Linked DNA regions of Homo sapiens: all the other regions are linked to region 2. Evidence: promoter capture Hi-C in 16 types of primary human blood cells and fetal thymus (Javierre and others, 2016). All regions are on one chromosome and are shown on one strand. The core of a region is centred on a gene start or on the middle of the fragment in contact, and the rest is flanking DNA. Distances in the headings are between cores, read along the strand shown. Region 1 overlaps PRIM2 (DNA primase subunit 2). Region 2 holds the start of ZNF451 (zinc finger protein 451). Region 3 overlaps PRIM2 (DNA primase subunit 2).

Evidence for each region. Contacts are between HindIII fragments. The CHiCAGO score rates a contact against its expected background, and 5 or more counts as called.
Region 1: a fragment that was not itself captured here is called in contact with the fragment with the promoter of ZNF451 in region 2 in 4 of 17 cell types (total CD8 T cells, naive CD8 T cells, total CD4 T cells and 1 more); the score reaches 7.4 in total CD8 T cells.
Region 3: a fragment that was not itself captured here is called in contact with the fragment with the promoter of ZNF451 in region 2 in 1 of 17 cell types (total B cells); the score reaches 5.5 in total B cells.

The regions. Positions count from the first base shown.
Region 1 is chr6:57,358,718-57,362,942 of GRCh38, forward strand. All of the region lies in intron 5 of PRIM2 (DNA primase subunit 2), which reads left to right. Among named protein-coding and RNA genes, the nearest start is that of MIR548U, 29 kb to the right of the region's middle. The HindIII fragment of the contact is 2,844 bases long and covers 1-2,700 here.
Region 2 is chr6:57,087,771-57,091,732 of GRCh38, forward strand. ZNF451 (zinc finger protein 451) reads left to right here and starts at 2,418. Exons shown (of 15, transcript NM_001031623.3): 1 at 2,418-2,504; 2 at 3,041-3,124. The coding sequence starts at 2,484. RefSeq lists enhancers at 2,087-2,236, 2,104-2,986 and a silencer at 2,407-2,476. The HindIII fragment of the contact is 8,135 bases long and covers 1-3,962 here.
Region 3 is chr6:57,430,442-57,434,196 of GRCh38, forward strand. The region is part of intron 7 of PRIM2 (DNA primase subunit 2); the gene reads left to right. Among named protein-coding and RNA genes, the nearest start is that of MIR548U, 42 kb to the left of the region's middle. RefSeq lists a silencer at 3,534-3,708. The HindIII fragment of the contact is 1,761 bases long and covers 519-2,279 here.

The DNA.
Region 1 (4,225 bases), core at 29-2,528, 270 kb after region 2:
GTACAGTAAAAATTAATTATTTTCACTATAAGTATTATATAAATAATAAAGATATTTAGGAGGGAGTATATATGCTAATAGGAAATAAATGTTTTGCCTCCCAGGAGATCATCTTAGCTGGTACAGTGGATTAAAAATGGCCTCAAATTATTTGATATTTTCTCATTGAGAAGTGGGATCTATGTCACCACCCCTTGAATCTCAGTAGCTTTAAAAAATTATGGTTAAATATACATAATCTTTACATTTTAAACTATTTTTAAGTGTACAGTTCTTTGTCATTAAGTGTATTCACATTGTTGTGCAACCATCCCCATTCATCTCCAGAACTTTTTCATCTTCTCCAGCTGAAACTCATTACCCTTTAAATACTAACTCCTCATTCTTCCCCTGCCCACCTCTTGATGTGAGTGGGTTTTGGCAAATAGAGTATGGATGGCAGCAGTGACAGAGTACCAGTGTCTGGGTACAGGCTTTAAGAAACTGGGGGCTTCCACTTTCTGTCTCTGGTACACAGTCTTCAGGAGCTCTGGGATGCCATTAAGAATTCTAAGTAGACTTGATGGAGAATCTGTTCTGAAACCTGGCAGTAACTAGTAATTGCCATGCTGGAGAGGCATGTTGACATTCCCACCTGAGCCCAGCCTTTTAAGCATCCCTGTCACGGTGCCATACATGAGAGCAGAGCCATCTAAGAACCTCCAGATTAATCTGTTCACCAGCTCAGTACCTCTGGTGACTTCATTTGGTGCCACATGGAGTAGAGACATTGCCAGCAGCACCCTTTCTGAATACCTGACCATCAGAATTGAGAGCTGTAATACAATGGCTGTTATTTTAAACTGTTAAGTTTTGGGATAGTTTGTTATACAGTGATAGATAATTAGAACTGGTAGCTAGAGCTTCTGGCTTCTTGAGTTTGAGCTGAAAATAGCAATCAGTGTATCCTAAATACCTCAAAACAACTGTACTATGATTTGGAAAGACTATATAAAATGTAATGAAAGATACTATTAACAATTAAATAATATGGAAAATGAAATTCCAATAATTAGTTGAGTGGAGAAGACAACTCTGAGGAGCCCAGATTACTTAGAAGGGACAGAAATGGGAAAATTGTTGATAAATGCTTTTCACCTTTCAGAAATTTGATTGGTGAATCTGCTTAAAAGTTAGCTGAGAAGTTTGTGGCTTTTTCATTTTGAAGAAGAGATTTGCCAGGAGTCTGAGAATCCTTTAAATTCTTCCAAAGACAGCTTTATTATGTTTAGGACAGTGGAAAGTAATGTAATAAGGTATAAGGTATGAGATAATGAGGTTGATGTTTTTATGTGGTGCTCTTAGCCCCTTAGAGTTTGCCAAAATTTAAAGCAGACCAAGTTTAATGAGTGTACTTCATAGTATAGATTGTGGACAGTCCTTTTTGCTTGCTAAATTCAATTTAGCTCAGATGGTGAATACCAATATGTTCAGAGTACTGTGTAGGTGCTATGGGGGATTTAAAAACACCTTCTTAAGTAGAAAGAGGTATAAATAAATGAATGAAACAATCATAAGTTACTATAGACACCACATTATACAGGCTTCTTAATTTTTGTATGCCATTTCTAAATGGTTGCAGATTTTTCTCCTTTTATTTTCAGCATTTAATGCTTTATATTGGCTCTTGATATATGGAGTTTGGATTATGGAAGGTAAGGGGGAGATTTTAATTCATATGGAAATCTATGGAAATTATTTCTTACTGAAAAACTGAAAATAGATAAAATAAAAAAATACAATTTCGTAAGTCCAGGAAAGCAGGACAGTTGAGGCCTAATAATACCCTTTTGTGTTGGCAGACAGATTTGCTGCTATTATGACACTTTGCTTAAGGAATGGGAGTATCGTGGATGAATACAAACCTATACACAGCTGTTTGTGTTTGCTGCACAGCTTTCTGGATACCTTAAGCTGTATCACTTTTGGATTGTAATGATTTTACTGGAGGCAAGAAACAAAGTGAACAAGATACAGCATCAAAATTCTCTTTTAAGTTTCCCAAGGCTGCTCTTATTTCTCTCTACAAAATAGAAATAATAATTTTGCCCTTTTTTTGATAACACTAGCAGTAGCAAGCAAAGTATAGATAAGAACAAGTGACATATTTTGAGTAAGTGATCAATGTCAGGATCTTTACAGAGAACAATAAGATGGATCTAAAATGAATGAACTGAGTGTTTTCTCTTTTTTTGCAGTTTTGGGGGGCATCGAATGAAAATGGCCACATTTAGGTAGGGTAGGAGAACAGGCTTTGGAAGGAGCGGGTATTTTATTACAGTGTGAATAAAATAAATATTTAGAACATTATAAGAATGATGGCTGACACTGAGAGATTCATGTTAATGTTATAGGTTTCTCAAGGCTGATAGGAGCTCTTATATTGTATTTCTAATGTAGAGGAATAGAAGGAAAGCTATGGATGGGGTGCAGAAGAATGGCCCTTTGGCAGTGTAGGTAGTGCTGCTTCCTGTCACACTCTAGTGTTACAGCACTTATAAACTGGATGTGCCTTCTGAGGATACTATCCTTTCTGAGTGCATCGTGGCCTCTTCCTATATTTGAATCCATGTTTTAAGTGCAGATGAAGCGCTTGGACACTGTGGCACTGTAAGTAGGATTAGAACCGTGACTTAGGATAGGGTATAACCAAGGGGAGGAAGCTTGGTGGACCTTGAAGTAAGATAAATGTGTGAGTAGCCTCTTTCTCCTTCTTGATGCAGGGCACATGGATGAGATGGTTGGGAAACACTTTTTAAGTCCCTGTGAATGTCAAGAAGTGGCTTGAAGGGGCTTTAATCTCTCAATCCCTTCCCCACCAAGGTACCCCAGATTAATGAACAATTGATAAAAAGTGTGCTTTCTATGCAAATGTGTCTTTTAAGATAAGTTCCCTAGCAAAATCCCACTCCTAAGCACATCCTATGTAGAAATTCTGGAGCCACTGTTGTCCTTTATATTATTTTATAGCTAATATTTAATAAATGCTTTATGTGTGTCCAGCATTGTGTTGTATGTTATGGAAGATTTGCATTAACATGTTTATAGTTGAAGAGAGCAGGAAAAGACTGATTTCAGGAAACAGAACAAGGTAAAATAATCTGGTGTCAGAATATTTAATATGGTCTACAAGGGTTATAGGGGGAAAAAAAAGTGGGCATTGCCATGGGCTGGATTAATGTAGGAAGGCGTCATTGAGCTGACAGCTGTGAACAGCATCTTAAAAGATAAGGCAGAAAGGAGGTAGCAGAGATACTCCAATGGATGGAATATCATGTGCCAACTGCAACTTTAAATGTCTGAATAATTTTCTGAGGAACTAAAAATATTGAATTGGGTCAACAAATAGGATACCTTTGTCAAAGCCATAGAGCTGACTTCTAATATTTTCAGTTACAAATATATATATTTGAGCATCTTTTAGAATAAACACCTCCCTTCCCTTCACACCAGGTAAAAAAATAGCTGGTATTCTACCATCCATATGAATTTGAAATATACGATAGAAATATAAATTTAGTAACACCTGACTTATTAAAAATTGCCAAAGATTTGATTTCCTATGGTCTATAAGAGAAAATTGCTACAAATCAATTTATTTTTTGGAATTTATTTTTCCTTACTCTTATTGCTTGAATAAACGTGGCTGCATCAGTGGTTCATGTTGACTCAAAGCAAGTTTCTCCCTTTCCTCTCCAGCTAAGGAAAGCCATATTTTTTTTTGTACTATGCTACTGTTAGCTGCTTGGCTTGGAAGACTTCGGTTATCATTATATCTTTCATGACTCAGAATCTGGCTGCCTCTCTTTCAATGATCTTGAAAATGTCCAAGATGCTGCATGATTTAGAAATGTAGAACCAAGTTAAGTTGAACAGTTTTCTACTGGGCTACATTGTAAAAATGGGAAAGGGAAATTACTTCCTTTTTTTTTTTGGAAAACACTTGCCAGTTGGAGCCTCAAAGAAGATTGAGTTTGAGAGGCCTTTAATTGTGCACCAAAAGGTTATTGCAGAAGATAACATAAAGGAGATGTCATAAAGAAGAAAATTTGAAGCTCAGTAAGAGAAAGCTGTGTGAAAAAATAGGCATTCTGCCAATTAACTGGGTGCTTGAAATAAATAGTTTGTAATTAAAGAAACGGTTGCAAATTTCAAAGACTTGATCAGTTTAACTTAGCTCATAGGG
Region 2 (3,962 bases), core at 1,168-3,667:
CAAAGTGCTGGGATTATAAGTGTGAACCACCACCCCCAGCCTGGATTTTCTTGTAAACACATAGTCCAGCTGCCCAGAAAAAAAATAAATTACTATTCCTGTTTAAGTAGGTTTTCTCTTTCAGGGATGCTTTTCTTGATGGCTTGACATGTGATATGGTTTGGATTTGTGTCCTCACCCAAATTCCATGTGGAATTGTAATCCCCAATATTGGGGGAGGGGCCTGGTGGGAGGTGATTGGATCATGGGGGCGGATTTCCCCCTTGCTGTTCTCTAATAATGAGTGAGTTCTCACGAGATCTAGTTGTTAAAAAGTGTGTAGCACCTCCCTGCTTTGCTTTCTTCCTCCTCTGCCCATGTAAAGAGGTTCCTCCTTCCTCTTCACCTTCTGCCACAATTTTAAGTTTCCCAAGGCCTCCCCAGCCATGCTTCCTGTACAGCCTGTGGAACTGTGAGCCAATTAAACCTCTTTCTTTTATAAATTACGCAGTTTCAGGTAGTTCTTTATAGCAGTGCAAGAACGAATACAACATGGTTCTAATTATCCTATATATTTCTTGAATTTTTGAAAAATATGCTTTGAGAAATGTTAGGTAAACATTTTCAGTGGAGATAAAACACTGTAATGTTATCTTTATAGCATACATACCAAAATTTAAACATTACATTCCCCAATTATTAGACATTTAGATATTTTCCAGTTTTTGCTGTTATAAAAAAACCTGTGATGTATCTTCAGGAAAATCCCTGCAACTACAGTTACTGAGTTGTATGGTGTGAGAAGTTTTTGGGTCTAGCCACATACTGCTTGTTTTCCAAGAATTTTACCCATTAACTCCTGCCTCAACTGATTAAATATTAGAGGACACTTTCACCAGCCCACTAGGAAGAGCTTTTAAATACAAGTTTTGCCTACACATTAACGTTTTAAAAATATTTAATTTACACACAGCTTTTGAAGAACTCCCCATGCACGTCTGTCATTCTCAATTGGCTTCCACAAGTCTCAAACTTACTAGGTAGAAAGTAACTAAAGTCATAAAGCACTTGGTGGAAATGCAGGAAATGTCAAATATTAAACAATAATTACTACAGGCTTAGGCAATCAGATGGTAGTTTTGCATACAAACAAAAACAGGAATCTGAGATGTTAAATAATTTGTGTTTTTTTTTTTTTTTTTTTGAGACAGTGTCTTGCTCTGTCACCCAGGCTGCAGTGCAGTGGCATGAATTTGGCTCCCTGCAGCCTGGATCTCAATCTCTCGGCCTCAAGCGATTCTCCTACCTAAACCTCCTGAGTAGCTGGGACTACAGGCAAGGACCACTACGCCTAGCTAATTTTTGTATTTTTTGTAGAGACGAGGTTCCCTCTTATTGCTCAGGCTGGTCTCGAATTCCTGGGTTTAAGTGAACCGCCCGCCTCGGCCTCCCAGAGTGTGAGGACCCGCCTGGCCTAAAATAATGTTATCACTTAATTCTTTTCATAAACTTTATTGACAACGATTGGTGTGTTTTTTTAAAAAACCTTTTTAAATTTTTGGTAAGGTATTACCTGAGAACAGATTAAATGCATAGTTGAATATAAAAGATCTATTTTATAGACTGGTTTATGAGTGTGAACACACAAAAGGTTAAAAGGTCAACCTTACAGCAGTCTATAAATAGATCTCTCATATTCTCTCAGTATATCTGAGAATATTGAAAAAGTGCATTTCAAAATCACTGGCTAGGGTTTAGTGATAGTTAGGTAGACCTCGGTTCCCTTTCCTATTGGGCCCTGGATTTCCCATCCCTATTTTCTTCCTCAGGTGTATTAATACTGGCAGGGCCTGGGAGACTGACGCTAGGGAAGAGGTGTGTAATGTAAGGATACTTCAGATTCTTTCCTGATCCTAGGATTCAGCTAAACCTCCACATAGCCCCTGTCCTCAAAAATGAGTAAATACATAAATTTAAAAATGAAAGGAAAAAAAGAGAAATCCGTTCCCACCACCCACCTTCAGGGCTAAAACAGAAAAATCAATGAGCTGCGCTTCACAACCATACCAAAACCAAACAAATACCAACTCAAACCCTCCTTCACATCCTCCCACATCTTCCCAGTGCTTCGCTATCTCACAGGACCCAGCTGGCCCCTGGCTTCGCCCCACCCACTGCAGCTGGCGTCTTTTAGGCGCATGGTTCTTTTCCTCTCCGGCGAGGGGCGGTCTCGGGGCGGACCCGAACTACAATTCCCAGCATCCTGCGCGGCGCGGGGAAGGAAGCCCGGGAGTGAGAGAAAGCGGCTCCGGGGGCATAGCGGGCCAGTAAGGGCCGCTCCTCCTTTGAAGAGGTTTTGCGTCTCTTTCCGCCGGTGGCGTCGGCGCTCACGCAGGGGCGGGTCCCGGTAGCGCCAGGCGGTGCAGGGCGGGAAGGGGATTCGTGGCGACGGCGGCGGCAGGGACAGCAGGAGCAGTGGTGCTGTCAGCGCGGCCGTCGGAGACATGGGAGACCCGGGGTCGGAGGTGAGTAGTCGAGTGAGGGTCCTGGCGTTCTCAGAGGCGAACCGCGAAGGGTTTGTGTTTTCTGCGGTCTGAGGCCTGGTGCTCCGTCGCAGCCTCGGGGCGATACCTCTTCAGTGTCTTGGGCCGAGCCCAGCTCTGGGGCCTGGTGCGTGTCTGAGCGAGGAACCCGCAGCAACAATGGCCGCCCGGCCCCCCGCACGGGCCCTGGCGTTCGTTGTGGCCGCGGCTGGGCCAGTGGGAGCGACGTTTTAAGGCAGGATTGCCCTTCGGTGTTGAGCTTGCGTTCCTCCTGGAGTAGATAAGGGGAATTGTGAGAGGCTGGTAACTAACGCGTTTTCAGCGTTGGGTCCCTGCAGCTCCGCACACTCTGTGGCAAGAGCCAGAGCTCGAGTTCCGTTCCTAGTCGGGTTTCCGTGAAATTGTGCTCAGTTCGTTTTCCTCAAGAGCTCTCTGTCTTTAATTGTTCCTTTCGGAAACGCTCTCTTCCTACACGAATGTGGCTGAACAGATAAGCATGTTTTGGCTTGTTTTTATAGATAATAGAATCTGTCCCTCCAGCTGGCCCTGAGGCATCTGAGTCAACAACGGATGAAAATGAAGACGACATTCAGTTTGTCAGTGTAAGTAGCAATGATGATTGGGGTTTTCCCAGAGTAAAAGACTATGGTGGGCCATTATGTAATGTTACCTCACCTGGTCATTTAATGTTCATGAGTGTCTAATACATACTAGACACTGGAGCATGGCGCAGGATTGGGAAATTTACCAAAAGAGCTATCTGAGCCACCCCCGTAGCCATCACAAAGAGCACGTCCTAAAGAACGTGCTGTACACTTAATCTCGCCCCCTGCCTTTCATTTAAACTTAAGATAAAAACGCTGGTGTCTAAAACGCTGTTTTGAAATGGAGCAAGAGTAACTTCTAAAGGCGACACGGAGGAAGGAGCTGCTAATGATGAGCAAGGACGTAGAAAACAGGAAGGGTTGTGAGAGCCCAGAATCTTAGCGTTATGGTGCTTCTAACATGAAGGCAAATAGCTTGAAGATTTCTCTAACCTCTGAGATCATCATGTTACGGCATAGTACAGTTGATGCTCATAATGAAGAATCCTACATCACTGGGAACATGCTCTATTTTTCTGAGTTTGTTCCCTTTGAGACAGTAGTTTTCAAGCCTTAGTAAGTATAAACAGGCAGATTCCTGGGCCCCACTGCAGACCTACCGAATCAGAATTTCCAGGCGGGGGCCTAGGAATCTTCATTTTCAGACAAGTGCAGGGACATAAGGATTTCTGAGCACACTTTGTACAGCATGGGTTTCCAAAGCAGAAGAGAGTGTTTTATGATGTATTTTGGGGTGATTTTCTTCCATAATTATTGGAGTTTTAGAAAGGCTTTGCGTAAAGTGGTATCTCAGCTCGCCAGGCAGAAAACGGTTCTGTCCCCAACTCGTCTTTTG
Region 3 (3,755 bases), core at 149-2,648, 340 kb after region 2:
TCTTTGTTTTTTTTTTTTTTTTTTTTTTTTGAGATGGAGTCTCACTCTGTTGCCCAGGCTGGAGTGCAGTGGCGCAATCTCAGCTCACTGCAACCTCTACCTCCCAGGTACTAGTGATTCTCCTGCCTCAGCCTCCCGAGTAGCTGGGACTACAGGTGCCCACCACCATGCCCAGCTATTTTTATATTTTTGTGTTTTTAATAGAGATGAGGTTTCACTATGTTGGCCAGGCTGGTCTCGAACTCCTGACCTCAGGTAATCTGCCCACCTTGGCCTCCCGAAGTGCTGGGATTACAGGTGTCAGTCACTGTGCCCGGGCAGGAGTTTCTTAAATCTTGAAAAGCTACTGTTGTTAGAAGCAAATGAGGCTAAAAGACAAAGAAAATAAATCTCTTAATGTAGGTTTTGTAGATTCTTTGGATAATTTTTAAGTGTATCCTCTGTTGACTTCAGGCATTTACTTCAAATAATCTTATCTTAGTTTTAATGGGACTGATTGTAGAACATCAAAACAGAAAAGCTTTTGCATGTTTTTGAAGATCTATTATCCTTTCATATCAGATTGCTTTTTCATATAGCATTCATAACTGGATTTTAGGTTATATAATTTTAGGGAGAGTTTAAGAGTGAACATGTGTACACACACAGACACACACACAATCTTCGTCGTGTCCCTTTTCTTTTTTCTTTGGGTTTGACATTTCTTCTCATCTGTTTTATTGCCTCTTTTTTTTAATGTGTCCAAATAGAGATTTGTACTATTCTTAGGTTTCTGTTATATGTAGCACAATGGAAAGCACACTCAGAGAAGCATTGCCATTTCTCTGGTGGTCGCATAACCTAACTATCTGTCCCCAATTTAGATAACAACTGTGAACTACCTCAGTTCTGATTTCAGTGTCCTGACATGCTTTTAAAGAAAATTTGGAGTCTGGGCACAGTGGCTCACACCTGTAATCCCAACACTTCGGGAGGCCAAGGTGGGAGGATCACTTGATCCCAGGAGTTTCAGACCAGCCTGGGCAATAAAGTGAGACCTCCATCTCTCCTACAAAAAAATTAAACAATTAGCCAGGCCTGGAGGTGCACCCAGCTACTTGGGGGGCTCAGGTAAGAGGATTGCCTTAGCCCAGGATTTGAGGCTACAGTGAGCAATGATAGTGTCACTGCATGCCAGCCTGTTCGACAGAGAAAGACCCTGCCTTTAAAAAAAAAAATGTGATTTGTTTTGTTTGAGCAGTTCATTTTTGAGAGATAAACCTAGGGATTGTAAGTCATCATGCACCTAATGATACTTTCATAGAAAAGCTGCTAAATGTGTGCTGATATTGTGGCCTAGGTCTAGTTTTGATAACTTCACTGTGTTTACCTTATCTCTCTTCCTTCACTAATGAAGATAACATTGTTTCATTCTTATGAGATTCCTGTGTATGTGTGTGTATGTTTTATTTCTGTATATATTTTGGACTTAGTAAAATTGCATGGGTAGTTGTGGCTGAAAGGGAGTGAAACTGAAGCAGTCTTCTTAGATCACTGCAACATTTGGGTCTAATGTAGGTATTTTAGGATATTAAAAACATTAATTTTCTTCCTTAATATGAATGTATTCTAAGCCAAGTAATATGTTATCACCAATTTAGCCTTTTTACATATGAGATGAATGAAATACTGGCATTTGAGGTTTCTTTTTGTTTGTGACAGAGGAGGAAGTAAGATTATAAATTTGCCAACAATTGGACTAAATGAAGTTGGAAGTAAAGTGAGAAAACTTTCCATTTTTGGGGGGGGTTGGGTAAGTTATATAATTACTTTCATGAAAGGAATTTGTTTAGATTCTACTGAAAATGGCAAAGGAGGAAATTTCAAAACAGGATATGTATGTGGAAATACTAAGAATTGTATTCATATTTTTCTTCGAAGTCAGAAGACTGAAGGGCATTGAATGAGAAATCTGGGAGGCAGGAGTTCAGTTCTACTTGTTCTGTGACGGGCACTATTAAACCTAAAAAGAGTGGACACTTAATAGCTTCTCAGAAAATGTACAAAAAGAAAATCTGTTTGCCTTGATTATAGCCAATTAGCAAGTGAAGTGTTTGCACTTTAAAAAAAGTCCTTAGTGTTATTATGGCATTAAAATAAAATTTTTATATTTTCCATTTTAATGTTAAGAATATGACAGTTAAAAATAGTTTTGAGAAGAATTTCTGTAATTCACAGGTTAACATGATCATATGTTCAGATTTTTCTTTTTAAGACCTTATATACCTCACAGGATGTTAAGCTTTTAAAAAAATTCCTGTAGAACATTGAAGAACTGAGTAGTCCTTTGTCATCTACATAGCAGGCAGTCAAATATTTGTTTCTTTGATCTGAAAACTAAATTTTGCTGTAGTTAAGCTGTATTAGCAGAATGCCCAAAGGCTAGTCTAACTCCATATCATAATCTAAACAGGAACATTTACTAGAAGCAGTTAGGACTTTTAGTTCACAATACAAGTAATACAGCTTTTTCTAAATTCTACCATTAGTACTTGCAGGTACCTGCTAAATCAGGAGTTGACACACTAAAGCCATTCAAGCCAAATATAGCCAGCTGCTTATTTTGTAAATAAAATTTTATTGGAACACAGTCATGCCTATTCGTTATGTATTGTGTATGGTTTCAGTGGCAGTGTTAAATAGTTGTGACAGAGATCCTGTGGCCTTCACAGCTAAAACATTTACTATCACATTGCCAACCCCAGTGCTAAATGATGGCATGAAAAAAATGTATATAAACCTTTGTTCTATTTTATTTTATTTTAATTATTATTATACTTTAAGTTTTAGGGTACATGTGCACAATGTGCAGGTTAGTTACATATGTATACATGTGCCATGCTGGTGTGCTGCACCCATTAACGCGTCATTTAGTATTAGGTATATCTCCTAATGCTATCCCTCCCCCCTCCCCCCATCCCACAACAGTCCCCAGAGTGTGATGTTCCCCTTCCTGTGTTCTATTTTAAATAGTGTTGAAAGACTAGAACACTTTTAAAAAAATCAAACTATTGCTCTTACTGAAAGGAAGCAGAGCACATATTTTGTCCACTTTCGGAATCCTTAGGGGAGCAATTTGTTCCCTTGAGTATGAAGCAGAAGTTACTAAACAAACTTGACTTTAACTGCAGTTACATTATAACCTTAAAGAGCTGGCCAGAAGTTTCAATGGTTGAATAAAGGTGAAAAACTAGTGTCTTTACAGAAGTTAGTGGTTAAATTATTCAAGACACTCAAAACAGACATTTAAAACCATTTCTCTACATATTTTATTTGGTTTACAGTGTGTAGCAACTTATTTCACTTGTTTTATGGTATAAAAGTCATTCAAATTTCCTAAAGCTTGAATGAGGCCATTATGTGGCATATCTAGAAAGACTTGGGTTTGAATCCTGCTTTCTCCACTTAATAGTTATGTGGGACAAGCAACTTCTCTGTTCCCTGTTTTTTTTTTTTTTTTTGAGACAGAGTTTCGCTCTTGTTGCCCAGGCTGGAGTGCAGTGGCGCAATCTCAGCTCACGGCAACCTCTGCCTTCCAGGTTCAAGCGATTCTCCTGCCTCAGCCTCCCTGGCAGCTGGGATTACAAGCGTGCGCCACCATGCCCAACTAATTTTGTATTTTTAGTAGAGACGGGGTTTCTCCATGTTGGTCAGGCTGGGTCTTGAACTCCTGACCTCAGGTGATCTACCCGCCTCGGCCTCCTAAAGTGTTGGGA